Regions from separate parts of the Homo sapiens genome. Here region 2 is linked to region 1. Evidence: promoter capture Hi-C in 16 types of primary human blood cells and fetal thymus (Javierre and others, 2016). All regions are on one chromosome and are shown on one strand. Each heading gives the region's core, a stretch centred on a gene start or on the middle of the fragment in contact. The rest is flanking DNA. Distances are from core to core; before and after follow the strand shown.

Evidence for each region. The method cuts DNA at HindIII sites, captures the fragments that hold promoters and counts their contacts. A CHiCAGO score of 5 or more calls a contact.
Region 2: a contact is called between a fragment that was not itself captured here and the fragment with the promoter of C2CD2 in region 1, in 1 of 17 cell types (endothelial precursors). The highest score is 5.9, in endothelial precursors.

Annotation. Positions count from the first base shown.
Region 1 is chr21:41,948,864-41,955,353 of GRCh38, reverse strand. C2CD2 (C2 calcium dependent domain containing 2) reads left to right here and starts at 1,336. Exons shown (of 14, transcript NM_015500.2): 1 at 1,336-1,984. The coding sequence starts at 1,706. RefSeq lists a silencer at 1,044-1,713 and enhancers at 1,590-2,364, 4,243-4,748. The HindIII fragment of the contact is 8,952 bases long and covers 1-3,065 here.
Region 2 is chr21:42,001,714-42,008,848 of GRCh38, reverse strand. ZBTB21 (zinc finger and BTB domain containing 21) reads left to right here. Exons shown (of 3, transcript NM_001098402.2): 2 at 5,888-5,952. Among named protein-coding and RNA genes, the nearest start is that of ZNF295-AS1, 3.9 kb to the left of the region's middle. The HindIII fragment of the contact is 1,880 bases long and covers 1,281-3,160 here.

The DNA.
Region 1 (6,490 bases), core at 87-2,586:
CACCACACTGACACACCACCCACACACCACGCCACATGCACCGCACTCACACATTACACATACACACACTCCACATCCATGTACCACACATACACACACCACCGTGTTCACCACACACACAAACCACACCACATGCAACGCACTTACACAATACATATACACACAGCACCACACCACACCCATGTGCCACACACACACGCTCACATCACCCTGTGCACCACACACACACGCACCACACTGACACACCACATACATACACCACACCACATCACACATACACACCACACACACCACATGCACCACACACACACACCACATGCTGTGCACTTACACATCACACGTACACACACCCATGCACCACACCGACACCACACACGCACCACACCACATGCACCACGCTTACACATCACACACACACACCACACACACACACCACACACACTGCACTTATACATCACACATACACACCCATGCACCACCATACACACTCGCACCATCCTGTGCACCACACACCACACACATACACCACATGCTGTGCACTTACACATCACACGTACACACACCCATGCACCACACCGACACACCACACACGCACCACACCACATGCACCACGCTTACACATCACACACACCACATGCACCACACTGGCACGCAACACACATACCACACCACATGCACCACGCTTACACACACACCACACCCATGCACCACACATACACACTCACACCATCCTGTGCACCACACACCACACCCACAACACATCACACCACATGCGCCACACACATCACACCACATGCACCCCCGCCCCACCCGCACACTGAATGAATGACACAGCCACACAGAAGGCAGGGCCTGGGCCTGGTGCTGAGCCCCTCCTTGCCTCTGAGAAGCACGCCCCCTAAGGCAGGCCCAGCCCCTGGCTCCAGGGGCAGCCACGGATTTCCAGGGACTTTCCGAGGACTGAGCCTGGATCCTGTCTCGCTGGCGAGCAAATGGCAGTCCTCGAAATCACCCTGACTGCGCGCTGTGCACACGCACACTCACACATGTGCACACACACGCACTTGTGCAAGCGCGCACACGAGCCAAGCCAAGCAGCCGCACAGCAGCCGCCGGGGTTGGGCTGATGAATCCGGAGGCCCGGGTCACCTCGCGGCCCGCGGGCAGGCGCCGGAGGGGCGGGCGACGCGCGCACGTGGCGGGGCCGGGAAGGCCGGGCCTTTAGGGGGGCGGGGGCACGCCGCGTTGGGAGCAGGGGGGAGGACTGCGGCCCCCGCAGGCCCGGCCGCGCCCCCTCCCTCGGGCACCGCCCCCGCCCCGCCCCGCCCCGCGGCCAGAGCCTCCTCCGGCCACCGCTGGGCCGCGGGCGGGACGCCCGGGGCGGCGCGCGCAGGAGGAAGCGCGGCCCGCAGCGGCCCAGGAACTTCCCAGACGCCGAGTCGGGAGCGCGGGCCGCGGGGTCCGCTCGCGCCCCTGTTCCGCAGGTGTGCGGGGCTTGCGCCCAGCCCGGGCCGCGGCCGCCGCGCGTTTCCTCCCCGCTTGCCCGCCCAGAGGCCCCCGGCCACGCTCCTCGCCGGGCTCCGACCCCGCCGCGCCCCCTCCACGCCCCCAGCGCGCTGTGGCCGCAGCCAGCGCGTGTCCTGAGTCCGCCGTTCCGGCCCGGGGCTGCCGGGGAAGTTGGGGCGAGGCGGGCCGGGGATGCGCCATGGCCATGGCCCGGCTGGGCTCGTGGCTCGGGGAGGCGCAGTGGCTCGCGCTGGTGTCGCTCTTCGTCGCGGCCCTGGCCACGGTAGGCCTGTACCTGGCGCAGTGGGCGCTGGCCAGGGCGCGACCCCAGCCCCAGCGGCGGGCGGTGGAGCCTGGAGAGGGGCCGCGCCCGGGGTCCGACGCGCTGCTCTCCTGGATCCTGACGCTGGGCAGCTGGAGGAGCCAGTGGCAGGCGGCCTGGGTGACCGCCCTGAACGAGGAGGCCGAGAGGAAAGGGGTGAGTTTCCGGGACTGCGGGCCGGGGGGCGGCAGATGCCGGGGCGGGCGGTCCGGGCCGAGGTCTTTCCTGGAGGCGTCGCTGCAGCCCCTGACCCAGGCTAAGGGAGTCCTCCCCCCAGCGCAGACCATCCTCGAGAGTTAGGAGAGAGACGGGGGAGCGAGGCCCCTTGACGGAGAGACAAGACAAAGTGATTGATTTTATTCTCCAAACGGCAGGTGCTCCAGGCCCTGGGCTCCGCGAGGGACAGGCTGGCAGTTGGAGGGACCGTCAGAAGTGCTCATCCGCGCCAGCCAGTACCTGCCTTGCCTGGAGTCCCGGGGCGAATTCCCGTGCCCGATCGGACACTTACTGAGCTTGCACATGATACATGAATAGCTGTGACCCCAATGTGCTTCCGCCTCTCATAGAGCTGAATTTCACCAAGAATTTATCTCCAAAGACTTGCATTTCTTGGCATATAAAAATAGTGACCGTTTGCTGAGGGCCAGCCGCTGGGCAGACATCCTACCGAGGCTTTCGGTGCGTCTGCCATCTCTGAATCCTCACAACTCCCGGGACAGGGGTGTTATCACTGTTTTACAGATGAGGAAACCAAGGCCCGGAGAGGGCAAGCAGCCTGCCCAGTGCCACACAGCTCGTGGGCGGCAGAGCTGGCATGTGAATCCAGCTGCCCTGGCCTGCAAGCTAAGGGCCTCGTGTCTTACCTCTGCTGCCTCACAGTCCTGTGGGTGTTTCTGTAGTCGCTGATTACTCGTTGACTTATTTTTGCTTTTAAGACATCTTAGTATAACGACAAGCTCCTGGCATGTACTATTCTTAGGCATTTCACAGGAGAAGTTGGAGCCTGGGTGGGTTTGGGGAGGCACCCCTAGTCTTGGCCGCTGCTCCGCCCTTCCAGGCCACAGTTTCCTGCACATGCCTGTGCAGCTCAGTGGTCATTCGCTGTGGAAATAGCAGAATTGCTCATTTTCAATGTCCGGCCCCATCAACCTTCAAAATATTCCATGGCGGGCCCTGTGCCTGGTCCTTGTGCATGGCCTTGGAAGACATGGCCATGGAATTAAAAAACAAAAAAGCTTTGACTATCAGTTAGCAGCCATCCAACAAATCAAGAGACCTTGTTTTGAACTCTTGAAAAAGAACATAAATGACTGTACTTTTTGGAGGAAAAAGGCTTCAGGGTCAGTTGACTGACTTTTGTCCTGGTGCCCAGAATCTGTGCCTCAGCTGTCCAGAGCTGGAGAGTGTCTCAGGGAAACCAGCTGTCTCTTGTGGGAGCCCTCCACCCCTGTTGGCCTCACATCCAGGAGCAAATGCAGGTATTTCCCCAGGAAGCTGCCATCACTGACCCCTGACTGACCTGGAATCAAGGCTTCTGAGGCTGAGTCCCCTCCAGGCTGGTGGCTTGATTGGGCACCAGTCTCATCTGTGTCCTTTGTAGGAGGCAGGCAAGTGTTGGGTGAATGACCTTTAAGTTCAGCTTCTAACTCTGGAGTTTCAGGCTTAGAGGCAGTGACCCTACCTCCTGTATATTTGGGATGGTTCGTTTCCTGACATCTATGGATTGGCTTCAGAAAATATGATCCTCTTGGATATGATCCTTCCATATTCCCATCTGACTGAAGTGTTGAGAGGCAGAGAAGAGGATGTCCCTGGCATCTGTCTTAGGCTGGTCAAGTCAATCTGAGAACACTGAAAGAAATATTTGAAAGTTTTGGATGAAAACTTTTTACTTGAGTCTTTGTGTGGGAGCAGGGAGGGGTTGCGTTCAGGGAGAGGAGAGAGGGTCTCACCTTGTTTGCGCCTTCTCTGTTCTCTCTCTGCTGTTGGCCACACACTGCAGTCTCAGACACCTGTCTCTCCTGACCTCCTGCCTGGAAGAGGCAACAGTGTCCCGGATTCATGCTCAAAGCAACCCAGGGCCATCTCTGGCATTTTTGCATGGACATAGTCCATTAGTTCTGTGATGTCAGTTTTTGGTATTGCTTACTTTCCTGGGGACGGGGGTGGGGGAACACAGCCCTGATGCCTGGGAATGTCATTTGATTTGCATTCAAATGGAAGGTTTTGCAGGCAGATAGGATCTGGGTGACTGGGCTCCCTGTGAGTGACGGTCACACACCCTCCCGGCATCCTGAGCCGTCGCTGCCGTGTCAGTGATGGCATTGTGGGTGAGCAGGTAGTGGTGTTTGCATTCCTGGCCGCCCCGAGTCCAGCGATTGTCACACACATCCCAGCATCCTGGGCCATCGCTGTTGTGACAGTGATGGCGGTGTGGGAGAGCAGGGGCTGCTGTGTCCATTCGTGGCTGCCCTCCCCCACCTCCATTCCCACTAATCCCGGATTAGGGCTGACACTCCAAGCCCGCTCTCGCCTGGACAGCTACAGCTTAGTGCTCCCCCTCCTGCCTCTGCCTTGTCCTGATATCACTCTGTCCTACCCAGGGAGGAGACCAGTTCTTGGCCTGTCGCTTAGGGATTGAGAAGACACTGGTAATAACTTAATCATGTCCAGCATTCTGTCTGAAAAGTGGAATTTTCTGTCCAATTGAGACAATAACTCCTCCCATTCCAAGTTTTACCCCACCTTTGTATTTTAAGATGGAAAGAAACCCTAAACTCTTCTAGCCAAGCCCCTTCTCCAGAAGGGGAGACTGAGGCCCGTGAACTGGAGGAATTTGCCAAGGTCTGCGCATTGGTGGCTGCAGCCTGTTCCCTGGTGGGATGCAGTATCAACTTGGAGACCTAAATGTTTCCTTTAAATGAGAGCCAGCGAGAAGAGCTCAGAGAGTAGAGTTGTTAATGTGTTATCCCAAACAGTGGGGCTCGCACCTTCCAGGATCCAAGGACTGGTCAGCACCGGAGGAGTCCTCCTGCTCTCTGATGACCACTGCAGCAGCACTGACTCCCCGTATTGCAGGGGACCTCGGATTCCCACCCTCACTCCAGAAAGGGGTCTAAATTATATGTGACAGTGATTTGCACTGACTTTGGAGGAAACCATTGCTGATCTGCCTGCTGGCCAGGTGGACGCCAGGTGTGCAGGGATCACAGGAGTCTTGCCCAGAGAGCTTAGTGACACACGTGCCTGCCCCCCACATCCGCCTCAGTAGGCTTGGGGAGCACACTTTGAGAGTGTCCCATGGTTGAGAATCACTGGTGAGAAGCTGCTAGTACACACTTGCCATCCATCAGAGTTCCTCTTTCTTTTTTTTCCTTTTTTTTTTTATTATGATACTTTAAGTTCTAGGGTACATGTGCACAACGTGCAGGTTGTTACATAGGTATACGTGTGCCATGTTGGTTTGCTGCACCCATCAACTTGTCATTTACATTAGGTATTTGTCCTAGTGCTATCCCTTCCCCAGCCGCCCAGTCCCTGACAGGCCCTGGTGTGTGATGTTGCCCGCCCTGTGTCCATGTGTTCTCATTGTTCAACTCCCACCTATGAGTGAGAACATGCGGTGTTTGGTTTTCTGTCCTTGTGATACTTTGCTTAGAGTGATAGTTTTCAGCTTCATCCATGTCCCTGCAAAGGACATGAACTCATCCTTTTTTATGGCTGCATAGTATTCCATGGTGTATATGTGCCACATTTTCTTAATCCAGTCTATCATTGATGGGCATTTGGGTTGGTTCCAAGTCTTTGCTATTGGGAATAATGCTGCAATAAACATGTGTGCATGTGTCTTTATAGTAGCATGATTTATAATCCTTTGGATATATACCCAGTAATGGGATCGCTGGGTCAAATGGTATTTGTAGTTCTAGATCCTTGAGGAATCGTCACACTGTCTTCCACAATGGTTGAACTAATTTACACTCCCACCAACAGTGTAAATAGAGTTCCTCTTTCACCCAGCACCACGTAAAAGCAATTGTTTGAGCTTTGACTCTTGCCTCTCCACTTGGTGTGGTGTTGCAGACCCCTAATTCCCATTGATGTGATCACTCTTTGGTCACACAGAACAGAAGATCCCAGAACTGGCTCAGTCTCAGGTCAGGCTCCTTAGACTGAGAACTAATATTATGGTATCCAAAAGCAGCAGTTGAGCTTTTCCTTTTGCTCCCCTGCGATTACATCAATATTTACAAAGTGGTCCATGATAATCAGTTACACCCCCAACATCCCCTTGGGAGTCTCCGGGACTGCTGTCCTACAGTCTCCTCGACTCTGGGATCCAGCATGCTTGCCTCTGATGGCCGCTGCCCGTGGGCTGCCCAGAACTCCTCCCAAGGCTGATGCTGTCTGGACCATGTGTGGGCAGCACCTGTCCCGAAGCGAGGCCTGTGTTCCGTGGCCTGTGCTCTGGGCTTGTCTGGTAGCGGCCCACCTGAGTGGGATGAGGCCCCGGACTAGGAGGGTCCCCAACGCTGTTTGTTTCTTTAGTCCTTCAGCCCAGGGTTTCTTTAGAGGTATGTTCTAATTGCAAATGATCAAGACTATGATCATTATGGTCTTTGTAAAAAAAAAGAAAAAAAAAAAAAAAAAAAAAAGATGCTG
Region 2 (7,135 bases), core at 971-3,470, 53 kb before region 1:
GTTAAAAAGAAAGTCAAAATTTGAAGTGCTGGTTTACTTAAAAGTAACTTTTTGTTTATTTTTCCTTTTTAACACTTTATTGAAAGTATAATGTGCTTCATTCTGTTGAAATAGAAGTTGAAGAAGATATAACCCCTGCCCTCGAGGAACTTACACTGTTGAATATTAGATGTGTACACTCTGAAGGAAAAATTGTAAATAACAAAATTGGGGTTAAGTTAAGAAGGTCTCTCGATGGAAATGAGATAATTAAAGGGACAATTTTTTCTTTTCTTTTCTTTTTTTCTTTTTTTTTTTTTTTTTTTTTTGACAGAGTTTCACTCTTGTTGCCCCAGGCTGGAGTACAATGGCGTGATCTTGGCTCACTGCAACCTCCGCCTCCCTGGTTTTGCAACCTCCGCCTCCCTGGTTCAAGCGATTCTCCTGCCTCAGCCTCCTGAGTAGCCGGGATTACAGGCTTCCGCCACATCGCCCAGCTAATTTTTTTTTTTTTTTTTTTTTTTTTTGTAGAGACGGGGTTTCATCCTGTTGACCAGGATGGCCTTGAGATCTCCTGACCTCGTGATCCACCCCACTTGGTCTCCCAAAGTGCTGGGATTACAGGCATGAGCCACTGCGCCCAGCCGAAGGGACAGTTTTAGTTGTCCGCAAAGCCAATGGAAGTAGAGAGAGCAGATTATAAGCTATGTAAGAGCTAGGTTTGACCAGGTCACAGTGATAGGCTATAAGGGAAAGAGAAGAAATTTTAGGGTCTGGCAACACACCAAAGTAAATCGGGAATATGTGAGGACAAACAGATGTGGGAGCAGGGACGAGAGTTGTGGAGTTTAAGTACCATGCTGGACCTGAGGATATACTGTGATGGAACCGTTCAGTAGGTACCTGAGAGGCTGGAGCCTCAAGAGTCTAAACAGAGATACAGATTTGGGAATCATCGTCCAGTAGTGATTAAAGTCACAAGGTCTAATAGAAAAAGCAAAGAATACTGCCACGTTTTGGGGCTCTGTAACGGATGCTGGAGAAATAAAGGTGAGCCAGTCCAGGTCTTGAGCCTCAAGTTTGATGATTTCTCTCTTTGCCCTGTACCTAGCTTGCCAGGCCTTGTGCTGGGCATCAGGGATACGTGCATGCAAACAAGGGTTCTTTCTTTAGGGAGTCCCTTGGGGGAGACACATGTAAAAGAAGATTAATTGAAGAAGTTGTGGTGTTATTACAGAGAGATGAAGTATTGTGGTAGTTTAGATGACTGAGCTGCTGGCTAGGGGCAAATTACAAAAGCTTTGTAGAGTCGGTGACATTTCAACTGGATCTTTCGAAAGAAGTTAGCCAAGTAAAGGAGAGGGAAGAGAGAGATTTTGGGTGGCAGAGGCTGGATATGCAAGTTTGTAGAGTAGATGGTAAGTAGTGTCCAATAAGGGTGGAGAGATGAATTGTAACCAGAGTATGAAAAGTCTTGTATGCCAGTCTGTAGTTTGGATTTTCTTTAGGAATAGAAAAATCAGTACAGTACTCCAAAGCAGGGCAGTGATGTAATACGCTTTACTTCAGCAAAACAACTAACAGCCATAATTTTCACTCGTGCATTTAATTGGAGTGAAGAGTACAGAAAAGTCAAATCTTTATTGTTGTGGAAGATAACATGTTGAGCATTGATAATGCCAAAAGATATTAAATAGATTATCAGTCTTTAAATAGCTTTCAGTCCTCTTGGGGAGACACAAATGACTAACAATAAAGGCAGTGAATAAACATGTAAATGGTGCTGAAGTTGAGGTATTTGCACGTTATAAGATGAAGTAGTCAAGGAAGGTATATTCATTTGCTTGGGCTGCTATAACAAAGTACTGCAGACTGGATGACTCAACAGATTTCTTTTCCCACAGTTCTGAAAGCTAGAAGTCCAAGAACAAGGTGTCAGCAGGGTTGGCTTCTTCTGAGGCTTCTCTTTGGCTTATAGATGGCATCTTCTTGTCCCTACTTGGTCCTTCCTCTGTTCATGTCTCTGTGCTAATCTTCCTCTCCTGTAAGAACACCAGTTACATCAGTTTAGGGGTCACCCTAAAGCCCTCATTTTAACTTAATTACCTCTTAGAGACCATGTCTCCAAGTATGACTACATTCTCCAGGTACTGGAGGCTAAGTCTTTATCATATAAATTTGGGAGGGAAGAGTGGGGACACAATTCAACCCATAATGGAAGATTTTATGGAGTAGCTGGAACTTGACCTGAGCTTTGAAAGGTGATTAATATTCTGAGTAGTGTGCTGAGGAGGGGTTTAGGTGAGTTCTAGGACTTTCCAGATTGGGGAGTGGGAGAAGTCAGATGTGCAGGTTAGGTCTTAGAGACAGAGTATCTGGAGCAGAAAGGGATCACTAGGGAATAACTAAGGGAAAGAAAAAAAAATTTTTTTTTTTTTTTTGAGACGGAGTTTCGCTCTGGCTCAGCTGTCACCCAGTGGTGACTGGAGTGTAGTGGCACGATCTCAGCTCACTGCATCCTTCACCTCCCAGGTTCAAGCGATTCTCCTGCCTCAGCCTCTCGAGTAGCTGGGATTACAGGCGCCCGTCACCACACCCGGCTAATTTTCGTATTTTTAGTAGAGACAGGGTATTACCATGTTGGCCAGGCTGGTCTCGAACTCCTGACCTCAGGTGATCCACCCGCCTTGGCTTCCCAAAGTGCTGGGATTACAGGCATGAGCCACCACACCTGGCTAAGAAAATTTTAAAAGTCATTTGAAACCAGATTTTATAGAGACCTTTAGTCATTGTTTTAAAAATTTTAGCCTAATGGAGAACAATTGTTTTTATTATTTTATTTTTAAACAGGATCAAAGCTGGTTCTCTTCATTCAGATCTTAGGTCTCAGCTGAAATATTCCATCAAGGTATTTTCTGACCATCCTCTCTAGGCACTGCATCCAGCGATATAGCACCTTATTTATTTCCACCATAACTTTTAGCAGAATCTGAGGTTGTCTTTTTTATTTGTTTCCTTAGCATCTGATTTATCTCACTAGAAAGTGGGGGTCTTGTCTGTTTGGTGCACCCCTATATTTCAGATAAATCTAACCATGCCTTGTACAGAATTGGAATTCAGTAAATAAGTTGAATTAATAATAGGAATATTTAACGTGTATGTTGGGTGAGCGATCAAAGCTTTGTTCTAAGAAGCTCAGTCTAGAAGCTGTATTAGGATGGGTTTGGAAGGCATGACAAGGAACAGTGAATACCACGTGGAAATATATTAGGGTTCTTTAATAACAAGAACAGAAACTGTCTGGCTTGAATGGAAAAAGTAGTTTATTGTAAAGATACAGGGTTGCTCTTGGACTTAAAAGAAAAGCTAAAAAACTGGGCCAGGAAGAAGGACAAAAACCAAGCTAACTCCAGGAATCTATGTAGCAGGCACTAGCAAGGTTGCATTTTCAGGCCTCCGTTGAGATAAGTCAGCTTCATTTATTTATTGCCTTTGTCATTCTTCTCAGGATTCATATTCCGAGGACAAAGTTTCTGATTGGTTTGGCTTTGGTTGTATGGTTAGCCCAGAGGTAGGGGAGAGGAGCACATCAGGCTGTAGCACACAGTGGGACAAGAGCAGTTCTTCTATAGCAAAATCATGGGGCTGTTAACAGGAGGTGGAATGGCTGTGTAGTGGCTGGAAGAAAACAGCAAAGGCTGTGACCAGAGTCTGCTCTGCTAAGGTGCAAAGGAGCTTGAACTATGTTGGAGTAGGATCATTCTCCTGAATGTGGCCAAGAACAACCATCAAACCAAAATCAAACCCCCTTGTTAGAGACTGAAAGTGTGGTGAAATGGAATACAAGATAGTAACATGACTCCTCTTGAAGGATTGGATAAGCTAGTCTAGGTTTGAAATCTGAGGATATTTGCGTTGTCACCAAGTGAGTGATGATAAGACCGAAACTCAGAGGCAACTTCCTATCACCATCAAATAGTAAAATCCAATGGTAGGTGTTACGGCTAAATCCTGAAATGAGGGTTTGGGGATAAGCAGTCTGTGTGTGTGTGTTTATGTTCCAAAGTCAAATGTAGATGCTTTGTTTTTTTAACTAGGTATTTGCCTTGTGTTACATGCATTCCCTCTTTTTTCTAGTATCATGGTTAGGACTATAGAAGCAATCCCCAACATTCCAAAGGACCCATGTTCCCAGAGTTGAAATCTAGGTTGATGCTGGATGTAAAGAGCCATTTTCCTGTAGAACTGGTAGTAGCAGTTTTGTGGCTAGTCTGGGAGCCAACTTAATTTATAGTGTACCTTAGCTATGACACTAGTCCAAGTAGGTGAGATTATTTTGATCCCTTTCCATCTCTGTTTCTCACCCCCTCACTCACCCCCTGGTACCCTTCTGAGTGCCAAGTCGCTTTGCTTTCCTCTGCTTCTCACTAGAATGCTCTATATTCGAAATTGCCTACCTTCCCTCTCCCTCAAAAATCTTAATTCCATACAACTGATTTAACACTCTATAAAGAGGAAAGTATTTGCATTGAATTAATTTATGTTAAGATATGAGGCCGGGCGCGGTGGCTCATATCTTACAGGTGGCTGGCCTGTAATCCCAGCACTTTGGGAGACCGAGGTGGGCAGATCGCCTGAGGTCAGGAGTTCGAGACCGGCCTGACCAATATGGTGAAACCCCATTTCTACTAAAAATACAAAAATTAGCCAGTCCTGGTGGCTGGCGCCTGTAGTCCCAGCTACTCAGGAGGCTGAGACAGGAGAATTGCTTGAACCCAGGAGGCGGAGGTTGCAGTGAGCCAAGATCATGCCACTGCACTCCAGCCTGGGTGACAGAGTGAGACTCTTCAAAAAAAAAAAAAAAAGATGTGAGATATGAGTCCCCCACCCCCTTAGCATTTATTACCTGAGGAATTTGAAGTGATGGTATGAAATAATCTTCTGGAATCCAGTTCTGAAGGGTTTTGTAGCCATTCCAGGGAATTGGAAGTTGAGGCCAGGGCAAGCCCTTGGAAGGTTTTAAGCCCCAGCAAGGCCAGATGAGCATTTCTGAAAAGCGTCTATAGTAGAAATGTAAAGAATGGAACCTTTAGTATTAGAGGTTGACTATCCCTTATCTGAAATGCTTGGGACCAGAAGTGTTTCAGATTTCAGATTGTTTGGGATTTTGAAATATTCTCATTATACCCAGTGGTTCAGCGTCCCTAATCCAAAAGTCCAAAATGCTCTAATGAGCCTTTCCTTTGTGCATCATGTCGTTGCTCAGAAAGTAGTTTTGGGTTTTTGGACTAGAGATATTCAGCTTGTATTATAATTGTCAAAGGAGTGATGAGTCCCAAGCCTTCCTTAGGACTATTCACTCATAGTTAATAGTGAATAGTTCCCACTATTCACTCTTCCACCCTCCTACACCCTGGCCAAATTAATTGCTTCCTGGAATCAGTATTCCCGTAGCATTCTTCACATCCTTTGTTAATTATTGTCTGTCCTAACATGGAAATGTGAGCTACAGGAGAACAAGAAGCAGGCCAGTTACTCATCTCCCCATCACCAGCACCTCTTGTGATGTGTGGTGGGTAGCAGGCCCACGCAAGCATCTGTGAGGGGAAGTGGAGAAGGAAGGAAGATGTGCATGTGCCACATGGGAAGTGCTGAACGTACTGGGGCTTTCAAACATGTTGCCTCTTCTGTCCTTCATAAAAATCCTATGTGGTGGGTAGTGTTAGCCATGTTTAACAGGTAAGGAAACTAGTCAGAAAGGTTGAGTCATCTTTAGAAGGTTCCATGCCTAATAGGTGGCGGAGCCAGGATTTGAGACAAATAGACTGATTCGAAAGGCTTTTCCATGGAACTGTAAGGTCTTCTGTGAATTGTTAACCATAAAGATTCTCTCATTTTGAAATTTCAGAAGACATGAAGTAGAAACAATCCAGGAAGGCTTTGGGAAGCTATTTGTGTGCGAGGATCAAAGTGGTAAGCAAGCCGGCCCTATTTTAGAAACTGGTTTTCCTGGGGGGTTTTCCTCTTAGTTTTTTCTGTTGCTCGTAAATAGACCTTTTCTCCAAATTTCACCCACTGGTCTTTTAAGAGCTCCAAGGTTTTTCCACCATGACTGAAGTGGCAGAAGTTCTGCCGTGATGAGTCAGGTGGAGATGAGCCGTGGAAAGGAGGGGCGTAGACGGTGGTGGCAGCAGTGCGTGTTTATGTGTAAGATGCACTGCTTCTGTAAGTCGGAGGCCCTGATTACTCATAATGAAAACCTGCATGGAAATTTGGAGTGATGTGCCAGCAAACTTATCGGTCTAGATCTGAAAAATACACTGAGGAGAAAGTACACCCGGCAACAAAGCTCGCCTTATCTGACAGCAGAAGAGCAGAGAAATCAAAAGTTTTTGAGGATTCGGTGTACACAGCCACCAGCCACAAACAGTCTTGCTGGATTATCTCGTGATCGTCAGCAGTTGTGATTTTCCCCCTTTTTACTTACATTCTTGATGGATGGAGCATTTTATATTTTTAGGTAATTGTTAAACTCAAATATACTGACTGTCATTAAAACACAAAAATTCAATATGTTAATTGTCTGTCTGCAGCCAGACTAGGAAAGGGTACATTGTTTTCAAAACTTAATAATTGAATTAAAATGTAAAAAAAACAAGGGCCTTAATGTGAAGGTGAGGGATCTGCATCTCCTAGCTACCCCTGTCTCCTATCTAGACATCTAGAGTCTCTAGATCCTGGGGTACTGGGGAGAATGGACAATGTTGCTTTCCTGTGCAAGATCCTCAGATGACATATTTTAGCCCCCAGGGCGCTCATGCCTCCATCTTCCTCCAGCCTCATGGGCATTTCCTCCCCTATGTGTACCTTTACCTTTCACCAGGCAAAGCCACCTGTGGTTCCCTTGGATTCCTCCTGCTCTGTCTTGTCTCTGTAGTGTTGCATGTACTGCAGCCCAGCCAGCTGATGTGAATCTTGCCCTGCTACTTATTATCTGTCTGACATTGAGCATGTTACTTAACCCTCTGTGCCTCGGTTTTCTCATCTGTAGAATGGAGATAATAATAGTACCTAACTCCTAGGGTTGATGTCAATATTGAGTTAATACATTAAAAGTGTTTTCTTTTGTGTGTGTGGCAGAATAAGCACCCAAATT